Linked DNA regions of Homo sapiens: region 2 is linked to region 1. The links are contacts of gene promoters, found by promoter capture Hi-C in human tissues and cell types (Jung and others, 2019). All regions are on one chromosome and are shown on one strand. Each heading gives the region's core, a stretch centred on a gene start or on the middle of the fragment in contact. The rest is flanking DNA. Distances are from core to core; before and after follow the strand shown. Region 1 holds the start of NDUFS4 (NADH:ubiquinone oxidoreductase subunit S4). Region 2 overlaps ARL15 (ARF like GTPase 15).

The links. The method cuts DNA at HindIII sites, captures the fragments that hold promoters and counts their contacts. A contact is called where the count stands out against the background at its distance.
Region 2: a fragment that was not itself captured here is called in contact with the fragment with the promoter of NDUFS4 in region 1 in 2 of the 25 tissues and cell types used here (mesenchymal stem cells and mesendoderm cells).

What each region holds. Positions count from the first base shown.
Region 1 is chr5:53,558,167-53,563,414 of GRCh38, reverse strand. NDUFS4 (NADH:ubiquinone oxidoreductase subunit S4) reads right to left here and starts at 2,776. Exons shown (of 5, transcript NM_002495.4): 1 at 2,655-2,776. The coding sequence starts at 2,752. RefSeq lists an enhancer at 2,375-2,874. The HindIII fragment of the contact is 8,769 bases long and covers 218-5,248 here.
Region 2 is chr5:54,082,630-54,088,362 of GRCh38, reverse strand. The region is part of intron 4 of ARL15 (ARF like GTPase 15); the gene reads left to right. Among named protein-coding and RNA genes, the nearest start is that of MIR581, 130 kb to the right of the region's middle. The HindIII fragment of the contact is 5,895 bases long and covers 913-5,733 here.

The sequences.
Region 1 (5,248 bases), core at 1,527-4,026:
AAGCTCAGTAAGTAACTAGATCAGCTCAATCACCCACATTACTAGATTTTTTCTCTCTTGTGTGTATGTGTTGTTGCATTCTTTGTTTTGCTTTTCACTGATGATATACTATAATTGAATTAATATGTTAATGTAGCAGCTAACAGCATCCTTCCTTTTCTTTTTTTTTTTTTTTTTTGTTTTTTTGAGACACAGTCTGGCTCTGTTGCCCAGGCTGGAGTGCAGTGGCGCGATCTTGACTCACTGCAAGCTCTGCCTCCCGGGTTCACGCCATCCTCCTGCCTCAGCCTCCTGAGTAGCTGGGACTACAGGCGCACGCTGCCACGCCTGGCTAATTTTTTGTATTTTTAGTAGAGACGGGGTTTCACCGTGTTGGCCAGGATGGTCTCGATCTCCTGACCTTGTGATCTGCCCGCCTCGGCCTCCCAAAGTGCTGGGATTACAGGTGTGAGCCACCGCGCCCGGCCCTTCCTTTCCTTCAGTTCCCTACTCCACTCCTTACCTTACTGATTCCACTTCCCATATTCTATTCAAATGATCTGAAATGTTACATGATTTGCAAATGTTTTTCTAAGCATTACAATAAAATGAATTTTAGATGTAGATTTTCCCATTAATTGGTTCTTTCTACTCACCTTTTTCAGATCCTCATTACTATCAAATCATAATGGAAAAAGAATGCTTAAGGATGAAGAACAAACAATATGTAAGGGAGAGGGTCTATAAATTTCCCTCAAATTAGGATGAACATGACAAGCTCTTAGGGTAAAAATGTGGCACAGAAAACAAATAAATGTGTTAATTTGTATTTAAAAAACGTCTTCCCTGGCATTAAGATTTTTTTTCAAGATTAAATGATTTATTTTCAAATCTCTTACATTTGCAGGCAAAAACTCTTAAGTTTGGATATGTAGTAACAATTATCATCAGAGTTTCAAAAATCTAATCTCAACTTCAATTACTATAATTGCTGACAAAATGGCTTTGACTTAAAATTACAGCCATGTTTTGATTAGCCATAAACCAGTGGTCCCTTCAAACTTGTTTTCAGTTCTGGGGCTACCATGAGTACATTATTATCTGGGAATGACAATTAATCCCTATAATCTGTACGGGAGGAAGGGCTAATCTTGGTCACCGCTATATTAACTCTAAGTTAACCAGTGAAGTATTTTACCTTAGAAAAATACTTAACCCAGCCTGACCAACATGGTGAAACCCCGCCTCTACTAAAAATACAAAAATTAGCCAGGTGTGGTGGTGCGCGCCTGTAATCCCAGCTAGTCAGGAGGCTGCGGCAGGAGAACTGCTTGAACCCGGGAGGCGGAGGTTGCAGTGAACCAAGATCACGCCATTGCACTACAGCCTGGGCGTCAGAGTGAGAATGTATCTCAAAAAAAAAAAGAGAAAGAAAAAGGAAAAATACTTTCCATATATGGAACACTTAATTACAAACATCATTTGCCTTTCCCCAATCTTAGCACCCTTACTTTTGAGTGACTCTATTCTATGTATTTAGTAATCGTTTAACTAATGCTTTCAAGCCTTTTCATAAGCCACGGACCCTACGGGACACTCTCTTCTTTCCCACCCAACACCCACTATATTTAAACCTTAATAAAACTCATCCTTAAAAATTCTTCCGAATTAACTCATCCTAATTCTCTGCATTCCATTTATATTTAACACTAAATCAATTAGCATTCTACTAGACCTTCCTTTCAACTTTTAACCACTTGCATCCACCTCCTACCCCCTTCAAATCTCTCCATCCAGTCTTTCCAATCTTTGTTCTAATATGTGTGTGTATGTACGTATAGCATTAGTACTATAATTTAAAAAACTCCAGGAAATTCTGAAAAATAGAAAATGGAAGGTTAATACAGCCAAAAAAAAAAAAATCATCACAAAAATGCTTCAAGGAAAAACAGTAACAACTCAATCAACTGACAACTGAATCTGACAATACTTTGGAAAAGTACTACTTTAGGTTCTCAAGGACGCAAAGAGCCCTCAACAACTCAATTCAATCCCTGAATTATTGTGAGGCTTTAACAAAATCCCTAGAAAACCTCCAGGCATTACCACCAGCCTTTTAAAAATTACCTTCCAATATTACTAGCAGTGATATTTTTACTAACACTGAATTCCAAACAAGTTTTCCTCCCAAGCAGACTGATGAATAAACAATCTTCCTATGCAGAAACCAAATTAAAACCACTTAAAACCATGGAAGGGATACAGTGATTTAACCCTTCTGTAAGGACTGGAGTGGTGGGCAAACAGGTGACAAATGGAAGGGATGCAGAAAGTGGAAACAGAAATCAGTGAGACTCCTCCCCTTCTCTGAGGGCTAAGGTTCAGCTTGCAGCTCCGGAGGCAAAACCTCCACGGACCCTCTCCCTCAGCGACAAGCCGAATACGAAAGCTTCCAGAAAACCACAGGTCCTCCTCCCCGGCCTCGCACTCACGCCCTCACTCGCCTGGCCAACGCCCATTGATAGCAGACAGTCCCTAGTCCGCCCGACTTCTCCCGAGAAAAGGGTCAACAGAGGACGCCTTCCCCGAGGCCTCCTCCGGAACTCAGCCAGCAGAGACTCCGCAAAAATGGAGGGACCCAAGAAGCTTGAAGAAAAGTGTGAAAATTCTATTACCTGGTCGGAACCCTGGAAACGGAAAGGGCAGCTACAGCCACTGCCCTTCTCCGCCACAACGTCTGCCTCAGTACCACTGACATTGACACCGCCGCCATCTTGCTGCAGGCAAACGCCAGGATGAAAGGACGGATCACCGCAAGGGACTAACTTCCTTCGTTCTCAAGCCAGTGCAATCGCAATGTTGCGAAATTCTTTGGGATTTTATTTTCTTTTTAATACTGGGGCTTAAAAAAAGAGGGGAAACGCTTAGTTTAAATAAGTAAGAAGAAAAATGTGCGGGAAGAAATGCAGAAGTGCATTAACTGTAAATATTACCACCATAAAGTGTAATCTTTACTGCTTGTTAGGACTGGTGTTTTACAATGATAACGAAAAGACCAAAATATACTTGCATATTTAAACACCTGCAACTCGTAATTTATTGAAGAAATTAGGATATTTGGGGCTGAACCCACTGGAAAAGCTGGAGAGCTCTTTGGGTCCTTGAGAACCTGCAGTAGTACTTTTCCAAAGTATTGCCAGATTCACTTTGCAAGCCCTCAGGACAGGGCTGTATTCAGTTTGATATTCTGTAGTAGTAATGTTCGTATTTTCCAAACGAAAAATCTGGATACGTGATCTGGCAAAGGATTATTTTTTGACATGTAGATTTATATGAAGAATCAATAGAACATAATATTTGATGTCACTGTTTCCCCAGTAAATCCTGAATGTGTGTGTGTTCATAATCCATAGACATGAAGAATGATATTAATGCTCCATGCATATAAAACAAAAATTATCTTCCAATACAAGTGTTGGAAACATGTTTGTATTGTGGACTTCCGACCTTAAAGAATAATGACTAACTGAATTATATAAAATAAAAAGCAGGTTAGTTTTGGGTTTTGTTTTTTAAGAAATTTGTTTAAAGAGTTAGTACTTTCCTGCTTTTAAAATTAAGCACATGAAAACATAACCTTCATTAAATAAATAGGAACAATAGGAGGATGGGGAATGACATAGTTTGGCATTATGGACCGTTAAAGGAAAACCCAGTACATAAGGGAAAGGGAGAAAGAAAGAGAAAAAGTCATACTCAGGGAAAGAAATGCACAAGATGAAGGAAGGCAAGGGAGAGATGCCTCAGAGAAAATTTTCTTTCAAACTTTTCATTTTGAAATAGTTATAGATTCACATGAAGTTGCAAAGATAGTACAGATGTCTTGTGTACCTGTTTCCCCCAGTGATTACATCTCGTATAACTCTAGTACAGTATCAAAGCCAGGAAACTGGCATTGATATAAAGTATTTGTGTAGTCCTATGTCATTCTACTACATATTTTGTGTAACCACCACCATGATCAAGATACAGAACTATTCCACCCTCACAAAGATCTCCCTAGTGCTAACCTTTTTGGTAACACCTGCCCTCCTAACCCTAGTGATCTCTGTTTCTGTTTTTATAATTTTGACATTTTGAGATGTTATATGAATGGACTCATGCAGTACATGACCTTCTAAGATTGGCTTCTTTCACTTGGCATAATGCACTTGAGACCCATCCAAGTTGTTGTGTTTATCAATAGTTCATTCCTTTTTTATTGCTGAGTAATATTCCATGACATGGATGTACCACAATTTGTTTAACCATTCACCTATTGCAGAACATTTTGATTGTTTCCCATTTGGGGCCATTACAAATAAAACTGCTGCAAACAATTGAATACAGGTTTTTATGTGGACAAAAATCTTCATTTCTCTGAGATAAATGCCCAGGAGTGCAATTGCCAGGTCATGTGATACATGTATGTGTCATTTTTTAAAGAAATTAAAAACTGTTTTCCAGAGTAACTGTAACATTTTACATTTCCTCCAGCAATGTATGAGAGATCCAGTTTCTCCATATCCTCACCAGCATTTTCTATTATTGCTATTTTTGTTTTAGCTGAGCTAAAGTAAATAATAAATGTGCAGTAATACCTCATCACAGTTTTACATTTATTCCCCTGGTGGCTAATAATGTTGAATATCTTTTCATGTTTTTATCTGCCATCTGTATATTCCATTCAGTTAAATGTCCTTATGTCTTTTGCCCATTTTCTAATTAGCATTATTTGGTTTTTTACCTGTACATTTTGAGAGTTCTTCATATATTAGATGTGTCTTTTGTCAGATGCATGATTCACAAATATTTTCTTCAATCTGTAGTTTGTATTTTCATTCTCTTGACAAGATCTGCCACAGAACAAATATTTTTAATTTTGATGAAGTCCAGTTTATTCATTTTTTAAATTTATGGATTGTGCTTTTGCTGTCATGTCTGAGAACTATTCTCTAATCCTGTATCCTAAAGATTTTATCTTGTTTTCTTTCAAAGGTTGTTTTAGTTTTGCCTTTTACATTTAAGTCTATGTAATTTTTGTGAGTTAAGTTTTCCATTAATAGGTGTGAGGTTTAGGTTCAGGTTTTTGCTTGTGGCTATCCAATTGCTCTAGCACTACTTATTGAAAAGTTTATCCTTCTTCCATGGAGTCCCTTTTGCACCTTTGTCAAAATATCAGTTGGCCATACTTGTGTGTGGCTATTTCTGGGTTCTCTATTTCAGAGAG
Region 2 (5,733 bases), core at 2,611-5,110, 520 kb before region 1:
CGTTTACTTCACATTTTCTGCCATTTCAGTCACATACGTATAGCCCAGTTTTGACAACCCCATATGACCTCTTCAGTCAGCACTGCATACTTCACATTCCTTTATCTTAATTTATACATATCTTTGTCCTGACAATTCCCCAATTGTAGAATTAATTGTTTTTTTCTCTTGGTCTTTTTGTGTTTTGCTCTATTATTTGCCCCTTCTTTATCACCTTCCCATATGCTTTCTGGAAACAGTCATGCTAGTTGGCAGTATATCTTGCTATCTTAACAGGAAAATTTCAATGGATAGTTCCTAGGATGCATCATATTTTTGTAACTGTACAATCAATCAGCTAATATCCAAAATACAGTACCCTGGTTATGCTTATTAATATTTGGAGCCGACTGGGCACAGTGGCTCACGCCTATAATCCCAGCACTTTGCGAGGCCAAGGCAGGCAGATCACTTGAGGTCAGGAGTTCAAGACCAGTCTGGCCAACATGGTGAAGCCTCATCTCTACTAAAAATACAAAAATTAGTCGGGCATGGTGTCATGTGACTGTAATCCTAGCTACTCAGGAGGTTGAGGCAGGAGAATCACTTGAACTTAAGAGACTCAAATATATATATATATTTGGAGCCATTTAGTTTCATTTTTGTTTCCTGTAGATGTAGCAGTGTTACTGGCTTCTTCCATTGTCTTTGTGAAAGCGGTGAATGCCAATGGAAACGAGTCACATGTTTATATTTTAACAGTCACATGTTTATATTTTAAAAGAGTGGAATATTTGTGGTAAGTGCAGTTGTGGCTTAATACCTCTGCTATTCCTTTTAGCTATCCAAACCAGAGGTGCTACTTCCTGAAAGTGGCAGAATTCAAAGAATCTAACCATGACATGCTTTTGATTTTTGTTATTAAGGAGATCTAGGGCTAGAAATTGCTAAAGTAGCATAATAACATGGCTTAGTATAGAAACCAGGAGCTGCAGCCCAAGATCTCGGCAGTACCATGTATAGGTTATATGACTCTGAGTTCTCTCTTTTTTTTTTGAGATGGAGCCTCGCTCTGTCGCCCAGGCTGGAGTGCAGTGGCTTGATCTCAGTTCACTGCAAGCTCCGCCTCCCGGATTCACACCATTCTCATGCCTGAGCCTCCCGAGTAGCTGGGACTACAGGCACCTGCCACCACGCCTGGCTAATTTTTTAGTAGCGACGGGGTTTCACTGTGTTAGCCAGGATGGTCTTGATCCCCTGACCTCGTGATCCGCCCACCTTGACCTCTCAAAGTGCTGCGATTACAGGCGTGAGCCACCACGCCCAGTGACTCTGAGTTCTTAAACACCTTACTTCTGCTTACCCAGGTTTAACATGAAAATCATCTATTAATTCAGCTTTGAACATTTTTTAAATTATTAAAACCATGAAAATTATTTAGCCATAAAGTATGTGTTGACTTTGCATATATAAATTCCTCGTCTCTCCCATGTGGCTTCATGTTTTGTTTATACTACTGTTTTCAAATCATTAAGTCAACCGCCTAGAGGAACTTGATTCCAGTTTTTGTGAAAAGCAAACCCAGAGCCTAGAAAAATGAAGGCCAAATTCATTGTACGTATCATTAGGCTAGTTGCCTTGTTTTTTTTAACCCATTCTGATTTCTTTTGCTTCTAGTATAGCGGACCAGTGTGTATTTTTTGGCTATAGCATGTATGTTTCATAGAGTATTTGTTAGGATTAACTAATAGCAGGTAGAGGAAGGGTTAATATTCTCATTTTTCCCTCCTATTCTATCTGGAGAGATCATAAAATACATTACAGTTAGAGTCAACAATCACCACTTGAAGAAATCTCTTCAACACAAAGCCTGATAAAATTTACATCTGGTAAATGTCTATTTAAGCTACTGCGAAACACATATACTTAAAAAAAAAAAAAGGCCTTTTCATTGTCTCAATGTCTTGAAGGCTGGAGATTGTAAAGCACTTCCCTAAAGTTCCTATGAGCAGGATGAGGCTATTTGCCTTTATAGAGCTATAGAACTAATAAGCAATTAAAGGGGATTTTGAAAAAAGCCTATAACTTCCAAAGTGATAAACTGTGGAAATATTCATTGGACCTGTCCCAGATTAGCTGAAGTATCCAGATGCTAAAGCTTATGTGTAGAGGCCAAGTACGGTGGCTCATGGCTGTAATCCCAGCACTTTGGAAGGCCGAGGCGGGCGGATCACCTGAGGTCGGGAGGTCGAGACCACTCTGACCAACATGGAGAAACCCCGTCTCTACTAAAAATACAAAATTAGCCAGGCGTGGTGGCGCATGCCTGTAATCTCAGCTACTCAGGAGGCTGAGGCAGGAGAATTGCTTGAACCCAGGAGAGGGAGGTTGCGGTGAGCCTAGATAGCACCATTGCACTCCAGCCTGGGCAAAAAGAGTGAAACGCCATCTAAAAAAAAAAAAAAGCTCATGTGTGGTGCCTGGAGCCATGGGACGCTTAGGAGAGAATATAGGTATTTCAGTCTGCCTCTCCTGGGACCCATCCACCTCTTCTCTTTTCTTCTAAGCCGTGGTTACCACCTATGGCGCTGACCATTCTCCTAGTGAAAACCTGCCAAAGACAATGGAAGCAACTACAGTGTTCCAGATACCAAGAATATCTTTATTCTGTATCTAAGAGTACAAGTTAGAAAGTGTTAGCCTAATAAATTTTGCAATAATTTATATATTGATAGCTGAAGGGAATTTAAAAATATTTTATGTACAATTGCCAGATGTTTTAAACCAATACTAATAAAAATATTTGTGGGGAAATACCCATGTTTCCTCCCTAATTCATCACCAACTGGCAATTTTAGTCTGTACGTTCAGTGACATGAAGCCACTGATTATATATTTGGGAGTCACAGCTATGTCACACTGCAACAAAAATTTCTAAAAAAACTTATTCTCAATTTCTGCATTTATTACATTTTGTCCTCGGATAATATTTTGATTTGCTATTTCAAATTGCTTTGCTGTAAACTATAGCAAAGGAGAAGGAAATGAGGTCATTGGGAGTAAAATAAAGGACTAATAAATAAAATAAATAGACTTATAAGACCTGTTAAATACTGTCAAGTAAAGCCAAAGATTGTTCTGTAGTATCTTTTGATTCACAGTAGTTTGCTAAGCATTCTGAAGCTCACAGGGTTAAACAATTCATTTATTCTTATTGTCATTGTTTCCCTGTTCTGTACAGAAAAGACATGGTAGCAGTGTCATTTCAGTTCACCTAAAGGGAATGACTGCAGCCTTACGCAAAATGTAGTATCCAAGATATATTTGTTCTATAATTTCAGTGAAGTGGATTCTCAAATTTCACGGTTGTTTTTATTAAAATCTGTGTATACATATACTCAGACATTAGCCAAAGCCATAATATCTGAACCATAAAACAGCCTCACTAAGGATTCATAAATATGGCCTCTCCCGCCCAATCATTTTCATATCATGTTTGTCCCTTTAGTAGGTTCCAAGATGATGTTTTTCAACTCCCATTACACCCTAAGAATTTGCTTGGATGAGTGAAATCAGTTGCAGTTTTTTTCGCCAGAACATGGTGCCACACCCTTGGCAGGTAGGCAATGTTGTCTTCATATGTTTGCAGAATTACTGAACATTAGCACTTTGTCCTCCAGAGAATACCCAACCCTACCCCTCAGCTTTCAGTGCACTAATGCCACAGACAAATCTGGCTCTGGAGGGGAGATGGCAATGTGAAGGCTCCCCACAACTTTGTGCATCTGGGGGTCGTACAAAAACAATGGCAGTCTTACAGCTTCTCCCAGGGAGATGTCGAGGGGCAGCGTTGAGGAGAAAGGGTAGACAGAGTGATTGTTCTTTCTGTTGTGCTTTTTCCCTTAAAAATGAATAAATTTAGATCACTTTAAGTTACAGTCTCTCTTTTTTTTTTTTTTGAAGAGTCAGTACCACTGTAGTGGCCCCAAAAGTATCCTACTCCTCCACCCCTCTGGGAGTCTCCAGATCTCTAAGACTAGATGAGCCCAAGAATAGTCTTACCCCACCCAGCCACTCTATCAGGAACCATCTGTGGACTGAGAATCCGCTCCTATTCTGAAGCATACGGTGTCCTGAAAGGCCTTCTAGACCCCTTCTGGGTTTGGTTACACAGGCTGAGAGTGCCAAGCCCACTGGCTAAGGCTAATTGTACAAGAGCACTCCAACGGCCTGCAGTGCCCCTGCCCTTCACCCCTAGCCTGGCTAATGTCCAGTGGTCCTCCTGGAAGACTTCCTGGTTTCCTCTGAGATGAGACTCCTCCCAAAGACTGGGCGACTCAGCCCCTTGGTTCCCATGGCACCCTGGCTATGGAATAAACGCTGGCAGTGTGGGGATTACTACCCCCATATAGATCATTCAGTCATCTTCTTTTCTGTATGATTAATTCTCCAGCCCCCTCCCTACTCCATTTAATTTTAGCATATGTATGATAAATCTTCATTGAATAATGAACAACTCATCAGTGATAAACCTTTTCTGAGGTATTGTTGTCCTTTGAAACAAAAACTCCCAGATTAAATGGTACTCAAAACTTATTAGATATTTTGCAGAACTCACAGTTCTACATTATTATAGTCATGTATTATAGTTATCGATTTACTTTAGGAAGTTTGAGTTGTAAGTTTGACAGCTCAGAGAACCAACATTTACATCTATTATTAATAAAGACAGGTGCTGCACTGATAATATAGTTAATGTATTCCTAAAAGAACCTAAATGAGGAGAAAATGACATTTTCTCTTTGATTTTAGTTAATTGGTGATATTTTCTCATGAAAAAACTTTTGACCCAAAGCAACAGTATATATCACATTTAAGTATATTCAGATTCATTTCATTGTCAATGTCCAGCCAAAGCACATTTAATTCTTGCGCAACCATCCCTGCAATAAGTTAATCAAATGAGCACTCAATCCCTATTGCATAGAATATTTAAGAGAAACACTTAAAAATTAAAGTGTACCATTGCATCAATTTCAGTTGCATTAGAAGTTCTCCTTAGTTCCATTAGCCTCAATTGTTTAAATAGCCACAGTGGTACTATGTATTTGCTACACACTCAACAGAATATATGAGCTTTTCTCTTTCCTTTATTCTTCTTTTTTAATTGGAAGGCACTGCTCATGAAATACAATTCTTTGATTTGTTCTCTAGACAGTAGAAAGACGTCATGGTTATTTCTTCCTTGGTAAATTAAGCCCCATTGTCAAACATAACTAGTGAGAAAAATAAATGCATTGTGTGAAATCCTAACCTTTAAACATACCACATTTGCTTACATATTTTTCTTTCTGTTTCCCTTATTTTTACTCTAAAATATGAAGATTCGTAGGCCTCATCTGTCTTTTCATTTTTCCCATATTTTCAACAAAGGTAGCCACTCCTCCAGAGTCAGAAATAAAATGATAAAATTAGTTCAAATCTAGGTCTTTTACTATGCCCAATTCTTCAGCAGCCTCTATTTCCTTAATATACCATTTAATGGAAAAATTTGACAAATTTGCATATAATCAAAAGGTGATTTTGCATCTAATTTTCCCCCCTCTAAATATGAGGCTTGAGAAGGAAAAAGTAAGGCCTTAGCTGAAGCTTCATCTTCCTTCTGAGCATTAAAGGTGCAAGAGCAATATACACTCAGAAACAAAGAGGAGAAAAACACAGAAAAAAAGGAGAGCCAAGGGGCTGGTGTGAGGG